Linked DNA regions of Homo sapiens: region 1 is linked to region 2. Evidence: promoter capture Hi-C in 16 types of primary human blood cells and fetal thymus (Javierre and others, 2016). All regions are on one chromosome and are shown on one strand. The core of a region is centred on a gene start or on the middle of the fragment in contact, and the rest is flanking DNA. Distances in the headings are between cores, read along the strand shown.

Evidence for each region. Contacts are between HindIII fragments. The CHiCAGO score rates a contact against its expected background, and 5 or more counts as called.
Region 1: a fragment that was not itself captured here is called in contact with the fragment with the promoter of TESHL in region 2 in 1 of 17 cell types (erythroblasts); the score reaches 6.6 in erythroblasts.

The regions. Positions count from the first base shown.
Region 1 is chr2:217,141,692-217,148,267 of GRCh38, forward strand. No RefSeq gene overlaps it. Among named protein-coding and RNA genes, the nearest start is that of DIRC3-AS1, 140 kb to the right of the region's middle. The HindIII fragment of the contact is 3,882 bases long and covers 2,367-6,248 here.
Region 2 is chr2:216,865,445-216,872,069 of GRCh38, forward strand. TESHL (testicular germ cell expressed HSF2 interacting lncRNA) reads left to right here and starts at 5,328. Exons shown (of 2, transcript NR_130782.1): 1 at 5,328-5,536; 2 at 6,012-6,195. LOC105373876 (a long non-coding RNA gene) reads right to left here and starts at 2,365. Exons shown (of 2, transcript NR_135525.1): 1 at 2,137-2,365; 2 at 888-1,084. The HindIII fragment of the contact is 5,034 bases long and covers 4,461-6,625 here.

The DNA of each region.
Region 1 (6,576 bases), core at 3,058-5,557, 280 kb after region 2:
TTTTGTTTCTGTTTCACAGAGTGGATAATCTCAGTTGACCTATCTTTAAATTTGCTGAGTCCATCCTCTGCCTGCTCAAATGTTATGTTTAGGTCCTATAGTGAAATTCTTATTTCAGTTATTGTATTTTTCAACCTCCGAATTTTTATTTGGTTCTTTTAAATATTTCTCTTTTTATTGACATTCTCTATTTAGTGAGACATCCTCTGGGTTTTTAGACTTTTTTTTAGTTTTTTAAAAAAACACATTTCAAATAGTTGAATAAAAGTCTTTCTAGTAATATCTGGGTTTCTTTTGGAACAGATTTTATTAATCACTTTCTTTCTGTGTATGAACAATACTTTCTCATTTCTTTGCATGCTTCATAATTTTTTGTTGAAAATTAAATATTTTAAATAATATAATTTGGAAATTCTGAAAATCAGATACTTCTCTCCAGGATTTGTTATTTTTGCTCATGTCACTGTTTTTGGTTTCTTCAGTGACTTTTGTAAACTAACTCTGTAAGACGTATTCTTGCTGTGTGTGGCCACTAAAATCTCTGCTCAGTTATCTTAGGGGTCAACTAGTGATTTGACAGACATTTCTTTAAATGCTGGGTAGCAATAAGCCTTTCAGTGTTTTCCAGCTGTGTGCATGTTTGGATAGCCCTTAGACACTCAGCCAGGCAGCTTAAAATTCTGCATTATCTTCATTTCCTGCTTTCCAGAATCTTAAGACTAGCTGGAGGTGAGAGTTTAGGGTCTTCTTTGGTTGTTCGTGAACATGTACACAGCTTTGAGCATATCCATAGTTTTATACATGCATGTGACTTTCTAGGTTCCCCAAAATTGGTCAGAGCTTTTCAAAGCCCCCATGTAAACTTATTCCCACCTTTTCCTTTTAATTTTAAAGTTTTATTGTTGTTGTTGTTCTTAGCCATTGTTTGCCCCAACTGTTATCTACTGTCTTAGGCAGCCTCAGAAATAAATAATTGTCCATAATTGTTTTCAACAAACACCCCTAAAAGAAAAAGCTTTTTATACTGGGCCAGTGCCAAGTCAGTTCAAATACTCTCAGCTTTGCAAGTGGAATCTTCCAGAGAATCACCAGACAGGTCAAATTATGATAATCTCTGGGAATTAGGTTTTGAAAGAATGCCAACCCTCTTCTGCGCCCTCTGGTGGCCTCCAGCCTGCTGATTTTTACTCAGAAAGCAAGGTATTGATTTTCAAGGCTTTCATGGAGTGGGAGAGATAAGAATTAAAATAGGGTAAATTTAAAACACCAGAAATTCACTGTTCTTACCAAGATTTAGCTGTTTTTCTTGACTAAATCTTCCCTGATTGATGCAAACTTTTAGTTAATTTCCAGAGTTCAAAAAAAGTTGATTCTGACTTTTTTTTGTAGGTTTTAAAAATTGTTTTATGAAAGGGAAAATTTTCAGAGGTCCTTACATTGCCATGTCACTGGCATCACTCTCTGTATAGTTTATTTAAAAAGGAATGTGCAACTATTTTTTCAAGTGATTGTACTATTTTACGCTCTCACAAGCAATGCATGAATGTTGCAATTGCTCCACCAATATTCGGTGTTGTTAATCAGTTTTATTTTGGTCTGTTAGATATTTGTGTGAAGGTTTTTTGTTTTTTATCATTTTTTGGTGGTTTTTTATGAATTCCAATTGATTAATTTGTTTTATATTTAGATATTTTTGTATTCCATCTAAAAAATAATTTCCTACCTTAAAATACCAAAGATAGTCTACTATCTTTCCTGCTAGAAGCTTTATAGTTTATGGTTTTACATTTAGGTCTATGATCTAGCTCAAATAATTTTATATATGTTGTGAAGTAGGGGTAAAGGTTTATTGTTTCCCATATATATTTTATATATATATATTATATATATTTATTTGTTTCATTACTCTGTCCTAAAAAATATTATGCATTCTTCACTAAATTTTCCTGATGTTTTATGTTAATATCAATTAACATATGTTTATTGGTCTTTATTTCTGGAATCTCAATGATCAGTTTTGTTAATCTAATTTTCTATCCTCGATACCAATATTACATTAGATAAATTACCAAGGCTATGTAGTCAACCTTGGGATAAGGTTATCTGAGCTACCTAACTTTGTTGTTTATTTCAAGAATTTTTGGTCTAGATTATTTGTGTGTTTATATATTTTAGAATTTACCATCACTTTCTTGAAAAGGACAAAGGGAATTTTTAATCTATAGGTCAATTTGGGAAGAATTGACATCAAACAATGTTAAATCTTTCAATCCGTGAACACAGCATATCTTTCTATTTAGGTCTCCATTAATTTTTCTCAGCCTTATTATACAGTATTATATAGTATTCTTACATGCCTTTTGTCAAGCTTATCTCCAAATTCTTTATGCTTTTATATGCTGCCGAAACAGTATTTTAAAATTACATTTTAAAATTTATTTTCATAATTGTTTTTTTGTATTGTTTACACCTCCTGAAAACTTGCTAAATTTACTCGTTAGTTCCAGTAGTTGTTTTATAGATTACTTAGGGTTTTTTTATGTAAACAATTCTGTCATCTACAAATAAAGACAGTTTTACTTTTTACTTTTCCATCTGTATATTTTTAACATTTTGTCTTGCCTTATCGCACTGGCTAGGACCTCTAATACGATGTTGAATAAATATGGCTATAGCAAATATTTTTGATTAGTTCTCAATCTTAGGGAGAAGGTGTATAATATTTAATAATTGATATGGTATTAATGGTAGAGTTTTGGTTTTGCTTCTTTGGATTTGGCAGAAAGGGCTGCTTTTTTCAGTTTGAGGAAATTCCCTCTGTTAGTTTTCTCAGAGTTTTTAAAATAATCATAAATGAGTGATAATTTTTTCAAATGTCTTTTTTTCCATCTATTGAGATGATTATATAGTTGGGTTCTTTTTTATTAGTTAAGTTATTGTAGGAATGCAATCTTGCATTCCTAGATATCCTAGGTTGCATTACTAGGATAAACCTTACTTGGTCTTTTAATATACAGCTTAATTTGATTTGCTAATTATTTCTTTCTTTCTTTATTTTTATTTATTTTGAGATGGAGTATCACTCTGTTGCCCAGGCTGGAGTGCAGTGGCGCAATCTCGGCTCACTGAAACCTCTGCCTCCCGGGTTCAAGCGATTCTCCAGCCTCAGCCTCCTGAGTAGCTGAGACTACAGGCACGTGCCACCATGCCTAGCTAATTTTTGTATTTTTAATAGAGACAGGGTTTCACCATGTTGGCCAGGGTGGTCTTGATCTCTTGACCTTGTGATCCACCTGCCTAGGCTTCCCAAAGTGCTGGGATTACAGGCATGAGCCACCACACCCAGCCATTAATCTATTTTTAAGAATTTTTCTGTCTATGGTTTGAGGAGATGTTGGTTAGTAACTTTCTTTTCTTACAAGGTCTTTGGAACTTTTGATAGCTTGTTATTAGAGTTACACTGCCTTCATAGCATAAATTAAGGAGTGTTTCCTTCTTTTCTATTTTCTAAAATAGTTTCCATGTGATTGATTTCGTTTCTTATTTAAATGTTTGATAGAATTCGCCAGTAAAACCATCTGGGGCTAGGGTGTTCTTTGTGGAAAGATTTTGTATTGCGAATTTAATTTTTTAATAGACAAAGAGTTATTAAAATTTTCTAATTTTTGTCAATTTTAGCAAGCTGTATTTTTAAAGAAAGTTGTACATTTGTTTTAAATTGGGGAATTAGTGGAATAAATTTTTTCATAGTATTCTTATTGTCCTTTTAAAATCTGAAACATCTGTATGATATCTTTTCTTCCATTCTTGATATGAGTAATTTGTGTTTCTCTTTCTTTCTTCATCTGTTTTGCCAGACATTTATTATTTTATCAATATCTTCAAAGAATAAACTTTTTGCTTTATTAGCTTTCTCTATTGTTTGTTCATTACTTATTTCATTTATTTTTGCTCTCCTACTGAATGGAGGATTCCTTTGTCTTAATTTATTATGCATACCACAGTGAATGAGTTTACTAAATCACTGTTTTTTCGGTCTGGTGCAAATCACACCTGAGTTTGGCATATTAAATTCTTTTTTTTTTTTTAATTTGAAACGGAGTCTCTCTCTGTCACCAGGCTGGAGTGCAGTGGCATGATCTCGGCTCACTGCAACCTCTACCTTCTCTGTTCAAGCGATTCTCCTGCCTCAGCCTCCCAAGTAGTTGGGACTACAGGTGCTCATCACCACGCCCAGGTAATTTTTGTATTTTTCGTAGAGACAGGGTTTCACCATGTTGGCCAGGATGCTCTTGATTGCTTGGCCTTGTGATCCGCTCCCTTGGCCTCCCAAAGTGCTGGGATTACAGGCATGAGCCACCATGCCTGGCCTTTTTTTTTTTCCTTTGGTTTAGGGCATAAGGAAGCGCTGTGGTATAGCAGAAAGTCCTCTGATCTTGGATTCAGCATTTCAAAACTATCACTCAACTTCTTTATCCTCAATTTTCTTGTATGTAAAATAGTGATAATAATAATTGCATATAACTTGTGTGAAGTGTTTGGAACATAGTAATCATTCTCTGATGGTTAACCTCAGGAGTCATAGCAGCTCCTCACTGTCTATGTAGCTCATTGACCAGTATCTATTATTTAACACATAACCTGATTATAAATATTTCAGGTATGTATCATCTGTGATGGGAATAATTCCAAAGAGGGAACATTTCCCAAAGGTATTTATAAATAGCCTCTAGTGCTTACCCTTTTCTAAATGTTATCTGAAGGACACTAAAGGAAATCAGATTGAGTTCAAATAAATATCAGTCTATAGTTCAAAATTAAATTGTCTTTTAGTTTAATTTTTGTGAAAATCTATTGTCTCAGGAAAACTCTGCTGTAAGCCAAGTCAGTTAACATTTCATCCCCAAATTGCATGACATGAAACAATAACACTAGTTTAACTCAATTGTGGTTCAGCACTTTAGGTTAAGCTCAGTTAGGTGTTCTGTTGATCTAAGTTGGTTCACTCTTGGTTTTCAACCAGCAGTTGATCAACTAAGTAGATCTGCTTCTGAGTTTGGATGGCTATTGATTAGAAAAATGAGGGAAACTGTGTTACTTATCTCTCACCTTCTAACAGGGTAACTCAGGCTTGTTCATGTGGTGGCTCCAGGTTCCAAGAGTAGCAAGAGAGCAAGGTCCAATATGGAAGTTCTTTCCAAGCCTCTGCTTGTGTCACATTTGCTCATGTCCCGCTGGTGAAAGTGAGTCACTGGGACAATCCTGATTTAAAGGGGGTGGAGAATAGGCCCCACCATTTGATGGGAGTCAGCAGCAAAGAATTATGGTCATTTTGGTCATCTACCACACTGGCTCTGGGCTCTGGATGTAGTGGGAGAAATATGAGGCCAAGAGGGATGTGTTTCTCGTCAGTATCTCCAGGATGTTAACAAAGGCATGCCTTGCATCCGAAGGACAGTTGGGACAACTCCTGTGTCGCCATCCAGCTAGTGCTTTAATCTGTGAAGAGCTTTCTTGGCAAATCAACAAATACATTCTGCTTAGAGATTGCTAGAAAAATATTTGATTCTCCAGATAGCCGAAATATAAACTTTTCTTTGTTATCTTTACCCTGTTCTTCTTCCTCTTTCCCCCAATCATCCTACTTCCTAACCCATTTGATGTCTTTTACAAAAGCCTGCCACTGACTTTCGTAGCTTTCATCCCTGTGAATGATGAGGAAATGTGCCAAATACCTGCTGATTTATCTGAAATGGGGCGTAAGGCTCATAAACTCAAAAATAAGATAAAAGAGAGCTGACAGTCCAGGCTAAATTCTACAATCCAATTTCAGATTCTTCCCAGTTGATCTCACAGCATATATGCAAGTGCACATACTTGAATACACACCACACCTCTGCCCATGATCACCTTTAAACAGTCATAAACAAAAATATACACAGATTGACTTCAGTAAACATGCTGTATAGGATGGGAGGACTGGCAGGAGGGAAGTAAAGAGAGAAGATATGTTCTCTAGTACTCCAGCATCTCACAGAGACACAGTGATAGCTCTCTTGTTAGCTTACGTGCTTGCTCTCCCAGTATTTCTCTTCAATATTATCTCATCAGAAAAAGTTGTATCAGTTAGCTATTGCTATGTCACAAACCACCACAAAACCAATCACTTGAAACAAAAAACATTTGCTATGTATCATGAGTCTACGTGTTGGATAGGCAGTTCTATTTATCTGATCCAGACTCAGCTAAGCTTCTTTGGGCTTACTCATGAATTTGCTATCAGCTGCAGAACAGAAGTGGACTGACTAGTCTAGGATGGTCTTAGCTGTGGAAACTTGGCCTTCCTCTGTGTCTCTCACATTCCTACAGCAAGTTAGCTCAGGGATATCTCGTGTTTATGGCAAACAAACAAGAATGGCAAGAAAGCAAACAGCAATTCACAAGTGCAAGTGTTTCTTAAGATTCTGCTTGCACCTTGTTTGCTAAGCCCCATTGGCCAAAGCAAGTCACACAGCTGAGCACAGAGAGAAAGGGCCAGTCAGAATCTCTTACCCAAAATGGTCGTAGTAAAAACTG
Region 2 (6,625 bases), core at 4,078-6,577:
CAAAGTCACAAATCATAGGCAAAGTGAGATCTCAAACCTAGATCTCTTAATCTCCAGTCCAGGCTTCATGCCACTATACAATGATGCACCACAATTATAATTTCTGGCCTCTTGTTATTTTCTGTGCATTTGGTCTGCTTTTCTTTTTTCCTCTTGTGTGCTAAGAGCCATGTGCAGGGGCCTTGGCCCTCTTAAAATCATCCCACCTGCCAAGGGCCATCAGTTCACTGAGTTTTAGGGCACCTGACCCTTTGAAAGGGGGGAAAGAGTTGCCATCAAGGGTGGAAAAGGACCACAGAGACAGGTTGAGGTTGCCACACGTGAAGGTCAATGGCTTCATAATTGATGATTTCATAGCATTGTGACCATCAGGCTGGTAGAGTGCATTGCATACAGGAGCTCTGACTAACTCTACTGACCAAGGCTGGGCCAAGAGAGAGCATCACAATCAGCCCTGCCTCTTTGACTTGGCTTGCCAAGCCTCTACTTCCTAGTCTTAGTGGCGATTGAGGGAGAAGAACAGGCAGATTCAAAACATAATTTTACTACATGTCCTGAAACTCTTGAGAGACAGAGCTGGCAATGAAGGCTTGCTTGACAGTGTCGCTGTCAGTTTTCCGCATTGTTCTTTGGGGCAGAATACTCATATTTGGGGATCTCAAAAAGTAGATTTAGTTGTATTTATACTAAATAAAAAGAAAAAAGTAGATCTTTTGCTGCTTTTTCTAATTCTAAAGTTCTGTGGTCCAAAGCACAAAGGTTTAGTAACACTTCCTTCTTCATTACATTCTTGTTCTGGGGGAGCAGATGGGACTTGCCTGGAGAAATGTTCAAAGCAAAGCCTTTGTTTTTAGTAAGGACCAAAGAAAGACCCAGATGCTTTTGAGTGTGGTAGTAATCAGATTTTAATGAGCAAGAAATTCCAGATACTGTGTAGCCTTATTATTATTATTATTTTGGTGGGGAGGAAATGTGGTAGGTCATACCATGGAGATGTTCTGGGGTTCTAGTAAGAACCGTGTCACCATGCAGAAATATTTGTTTTCTAAGACTACTGCAACAGTGAAAGTGCACTTTCTTCATGCTGCAAGAGAGGAAAGACAAAACTGAGGTTTAAAAGTCCCTGGTTAGAGCAGGAGAACCTCAGGAAGTTCTTCAGATGGGCACACAAGGCTAACGTGACATTTTCCAAATTTTCCCTTATGATTTTGTTACCTCTTTAGCTCTGGTTTGGCCTAGCTTACTTGCTACTTCCTGTGACATCTGCTTTCTTGTGGGTGTGACTAGCTGGGGCTGGTGTTGTGGGCAGTAAAGGAATTTACCAAGACAATCATAGGTAAAGAAAGGCAGATTTATTAGACAAAGTATGAAGGTATGTTGCAAGAAAGCAATGGGCAGCACAGCAGAGAAGGGGCTGTCTGCAAAGAGGCAGGGGCTAGAGGGGAGTTTTATAGGATTTATGTGCAGAATGAGGTTGTGCTGCTGGGTCTATCTGGGGAAGGAGGTCATTATGCCCACAGGTTTTTTGTGTTTAGCCATTTCTCAGAACAATTGTTTACTGTTCTCCTCCAACTTGGGGCCGGCCCTCCCCCCATCTTGCGCCCTTTCCTTGTTGTTGCTTATTAGGACTCCACATGCTCCAGATAAAAAAAATTATGTCTCCCCAGAACCAGCTACATAATTTGTGAAGTCCAATGCAAAATGAATATGCTAGCCTCTTGCTAAAAAATTATTAAGAATTTCAAGATGGTGACAGAAGAGCATAAATCTGGAATCAGTGTGGGTAAGTGGGCACAAGACCGTTTGTGATGCACAGGTCCCGTGACTATGAAGCCCACTCTGTCTCTCCTGCCTCACTTAAGACACTACTTATGGCAAATACCAGATAACTAAATTGAAAAATCCCTATCTTGTTTACCTTTATAATCCAGGAAAGCTGGTCAGATCTCCTATTCATAATGGGAGATTCATGAATACTTGCAAATGACTTACTTCATACTGAGGCTGTGCCATTTGCCTGAGAATGGACTTAGTCTCTTCATTACTGGCTCCATGACCATCTCCCCTCTCCCCTCCTCACATACATCCTCCATCCGTAGCTGGTACTACTCCTGTCTTCACTCCTCCTACTCTTACCCTCAAGCCTTGCCAATCACTGCCCTCTTCCTCTTCCTTCTCCTTGCTCTCCTTTAGTGGTACTTTCTTCTATGCTCCCGTAGGAAACTGGCTGAGTCCTGGGGTACATGCAGCTCTGCTGTATCCTAGTGTGGCTGAATGCACACACTTAGTGCTCATACTTACTGCTGGGAGATGTTAGGGGCCTGAAGGAGGCTTTCCAGTCATTTGCCTGAAGATTGTATTCCCAGCTCTGAGACAGAAGGAGCCCAGCTGCAGAGAATCTAGGCCACTGTGACTTGGTCTTCCCCTCTCTGGGATATCACAAAGGCCATATGAGGTCAGTGAACCAATCTACAAGAGAAGGGCTGAGCAGGGGACCTGAGATGATTTTCTCCAATATTTAGTCAGACTGATTTTCTGGATCCAAGTTTCTCAACTTACCAAATGTGGGCAAATCATTATATTGCTCCCAGCCTTAAAAATCTTCAATAAGTTAAAGAGAGGACTCAGGCTTAATGGCAATCCTGTTATCTTACCAATGAGGAGACTAAACACCTAGTTGGAGATCACCTCCTTACTGGCTCAGAGCTTCAGGAAATAGCTCAAGGATGTGCAAATACTAAACAGTAGAGCTGGGATTTAGATCCACATCTACTTAATTTTAGTGCGTATGCTCTAACTGCTGCCACAGAAGGGATGCAGAGGAAGACGGTCAGTTACCCAGAGGGTGATATCTTTGACTTAATGTTCACCATAAAGACAGCTATCAACAAAAGACTTGAATTCTAACTTGTTATCTATTGCAGGAAAGTGCCTGCAATATGGTAAGTTCTTTAGTGATATTAAGCCATTTAACCCAAGCCAGCAATGGAGTTGAAGAAGGGATAAGTTATAAAATACTGACGTGATTTATGTGGAGGGGTAAAGTTTTAATCCTAGTCTTCTGTCCTAAGTGAATAGTGAATGACTGCTGAGTAGATGCAGGAGCAGGAAATAGATGTGAACAGAAAAAAACTGGTTTTAGTTTTGCATAGGTTGAATGTCTACCAGAGAGGTCCCCAAGGATGCCCTGTAGACAAATTGGATAGAGGCATCTGTAGCTCAGAAGAGCAATTGAGGCTGGGGATGTAGTTTTGGGCACTGGCAAGGTAGAGTTTTGTGTGGTTGAATCTCCAGGGGCAGGTAAGATGCTCTAGAGACAAAGTTATGGGATTTATCAGCCATTGGGTGTTTCAGAGGAGAGAGCAGGGCAAGGAGACCGAGAGAACAGAAGAAAACTCAGGAAAGAATGGGGTTGAAAGTAAGGCATGCAAAACTGGAAGCTGCGACACTTGAGGTGGTCAGAGCACTTTTAGGGGACCTACTAAGCGCCAGGCACTGTGTGACCGCTTGAGGGAACCTCATCTCATTTCTCTGTCCTTACCTTAGGTGACTCCTGCAGAGCACCTGACAATCAGAGAAGAGTTAGAATACATTAAGCTCAGCATCACATATGTAGTTTGAATACAACTCCACCTCCTTCTCTTTCTTTCTCTTCTTTCCTGCCTTTGTTGCCCTACCCAGGATTAAAACCTTAGGTCTTATGTTAAAAGAATGACAAGAGAACTGTAGCATTCTCTGCCTCTTGGGCATCTGCAAGAGGTGGGATATTAGAGGGACACTGGGGGATGCTTGGATGATCACCTCCACCCCTCCACCCACTATGGCCTCAACATGAAGTTGGCCTTCTTGAAGTGGGTGAATCACTACAGCCCTTGTTCAGGAAGTGTGTTTGAAACCAGGCTTTTAAGGAAGAGAGGAGACGACATTTCTTGGGACCTTCCTGCCAACCTGACCCTTCTGGTTGGCACCACCCAGAGCTTCATTACTTAGGCCTGAAGCCCAGGTGTGTTGTTGGGCTCTTCCCCCTTTATGAGGCCCATGTTTCCATGATGCCAGGTGGCAGCCCTTCATCAGCCTTTGGACTACATCACTGTGGAGGTGGCTGGAGTCTCTTTTTTCATGCAAACTGCTGCCCAGTGAAACAAGATGTAGACATTTTGACTACAGCATTTCAATTTCCATATCCCCATCCCCAACCCCAACCTGGCTTTTTAGCCATGTCCTTCATTATTTCCTTCAGGCAACCTCTGTTCTAACCAAACTGGGTTATTTAAAAAGTAGAAAAAGTACAGGTCTTCATAGGAAATTCAGTGATTTGTACTATTTTTTTCATCTTCACCTATTAAACTTCCAAATGTGCTTCAAGACTCAAAACAAAGGCCCTATACTCTATGGTTACTTCTTCATTTGGTCACATTTTATATCTACCAGTAGAAGATGGCTTCTCTGGCCAGATATCAAGCTTCTTGAAGTTGAAGCTATATTTCTGTGGGGCTCTAGGGGATAGGGCAGGGGTAGTAGATTTAAAAAATGAACTGGACTAGAGCTTTAATTGTACTTTTTATCTTGATTTGTAGTAATGGTTTATGGGTGTATACCTAGGTCAAAACTTATCAAATTGTACACTTAAAATATGTGCAGGTTATTGTTTATCAATTATACTTCAATAAATTCACTTAAAAAGTGTACATTGTTCAAATCCTCCCTCAAGATCTCTTTCTAGAAGTAAGGCAATGAAACCAGGAATGTATGCCTAAATGTGTCAGCAGACAAAGGCTTTAAAAATGCTAGACTTGGAGATCAAAATATGCTACATGTACAATAAGAGCTTCTATAATTGTATATATGCCTTTCATGTATTTTCCCCTCAAGATTATCAACTGTGTGTTTGACAGTGAATATTAAATATGTTACCAGTTGAAATTTTTGGTTATAAATGTAATACGAATTGTTTCACAAACAAAACATGTAAAGCAGTATTAAAATTTGGCCAAACAAGTGTTCTGTATCTACTTTAATAAATGGTTATTCTTTAAAAAAAAAAAAAAGCTAGACTTGGGTTTGAAAGGCATAGAGAATTTTGCTTGGTTTCTGTAATTCTTGGGGGTTCCTATGGGCTGGCTGATAGGCAGCCAGCTGATTTAAGGAGTCCTACTAGGCATTTTCTTAATTTTATCCAACATTTCAGTACTGCCCCAACCACTCAACCAAGCTCTCATGTTGACTTTCAGCCATTGTGACAAGGCACCATCAATCATCATGTCCCTTTACCAGGAGGGCCCGTGTCATAAGCCACTATATAAAGGGAATGATGGGTGGACTGCTTTGGACAAATGGACCTGCGGTAGGAGAGAGGGACAACAGTAGGAGCAGGCAGATCTTGCTGTTTCAACCAAAACCTCATGCTGACCAGAGTTGAGGAACAGAAGAAGATGGTGAAGGCCTGCAGGTATAGGTGTTCAGCATGTCATCTGAAATATTCCCCACAGAGGCAAAAAGAAAGGAAATTATCTCTGAAAAGGAATGGGAGGACAAGGTATTGATGACATTTTCTGATTACAGAGGAGACTCTCAGGACTGAGGAATTGTCACCCATGCTTGGCCAATCTCCCAAACTGTCATGCCTCTGGCAAAAGCAAAGATCACCTCTCACCTTCTAAAGACTGGCCCCAGTACTTCTCTAACAATCCCTTCCCTCACCGACACCCACCCACCAATAAAAAACAACCACCCAACTCTCTCCCTGCTTCCCCACAAGTCCTGTGAAGAGCCAGGCTTTCTGTGCTCATGGCTTGTCTTCTTTGTGCTGTAGAGCCTCCCTCTAATCTTGTCCATGCAGTAAAGAGAGATCACACAAACCCTGGACCTACCTCTTTGAGGTGGTACTCTCAAACTCTTTGAAGGTCTGTATTTGATGGAATCTCTGGGAAACTGAGTTGGGAAGGTCCCTATATGAAAAACACGTGGGTTCTTGGAGTGTACATCTTTAATTTTCTTATTTGTCTCTTTAGTCAGCAGAATATGTCAATGTTTTGGTTGAAGAAGCTGCTTGAATCTGGGCTTTTCTGTGCCATGTGTTCTCCCAGGGCCAGCACAAAGAAGGGCTTTTGGTGCAGGCCCAAGACCACCATAATCATCATTGATTATTCCTCTCCACGCCAGTGTCTCTAAATAAACTTTCTCTTCTTTCTCTGACAAAGGTGTTTTTGAGTGTTACTGTTTAGCTGAAGAGTGACGTTGAGTGACCTTAGTACCCTAGCCCTTCATGTAATCAGATGGGTGTTGTAAGCAGAGGGAGAACCATGTGAGTCAGGAGGAAATATGTAGTTTACCCTTTTTTTCCTGTTTGAAAGATTTACTATGATGTTCATGGTTGGGCTTTTGTTTGGGATAAATTGAGATGCTTTCTGGATATGATAAGGGCTTATTTGGTTTGATAGACCGTCTAAACAAGGCCAGTGCAGGCTGAGCCAGGTGAACCACCAGATCACCATCAGCTCACACTTCTCATTCATTTGTTAGCAGAAATGAAGATGCTTGTTTTCCTAGAAACAAGCCCAGGTCATCCATCATGAAGTCCAGGAATTGTAAATGTGAGGAAGTGCAAAGACACAACGTACACTTA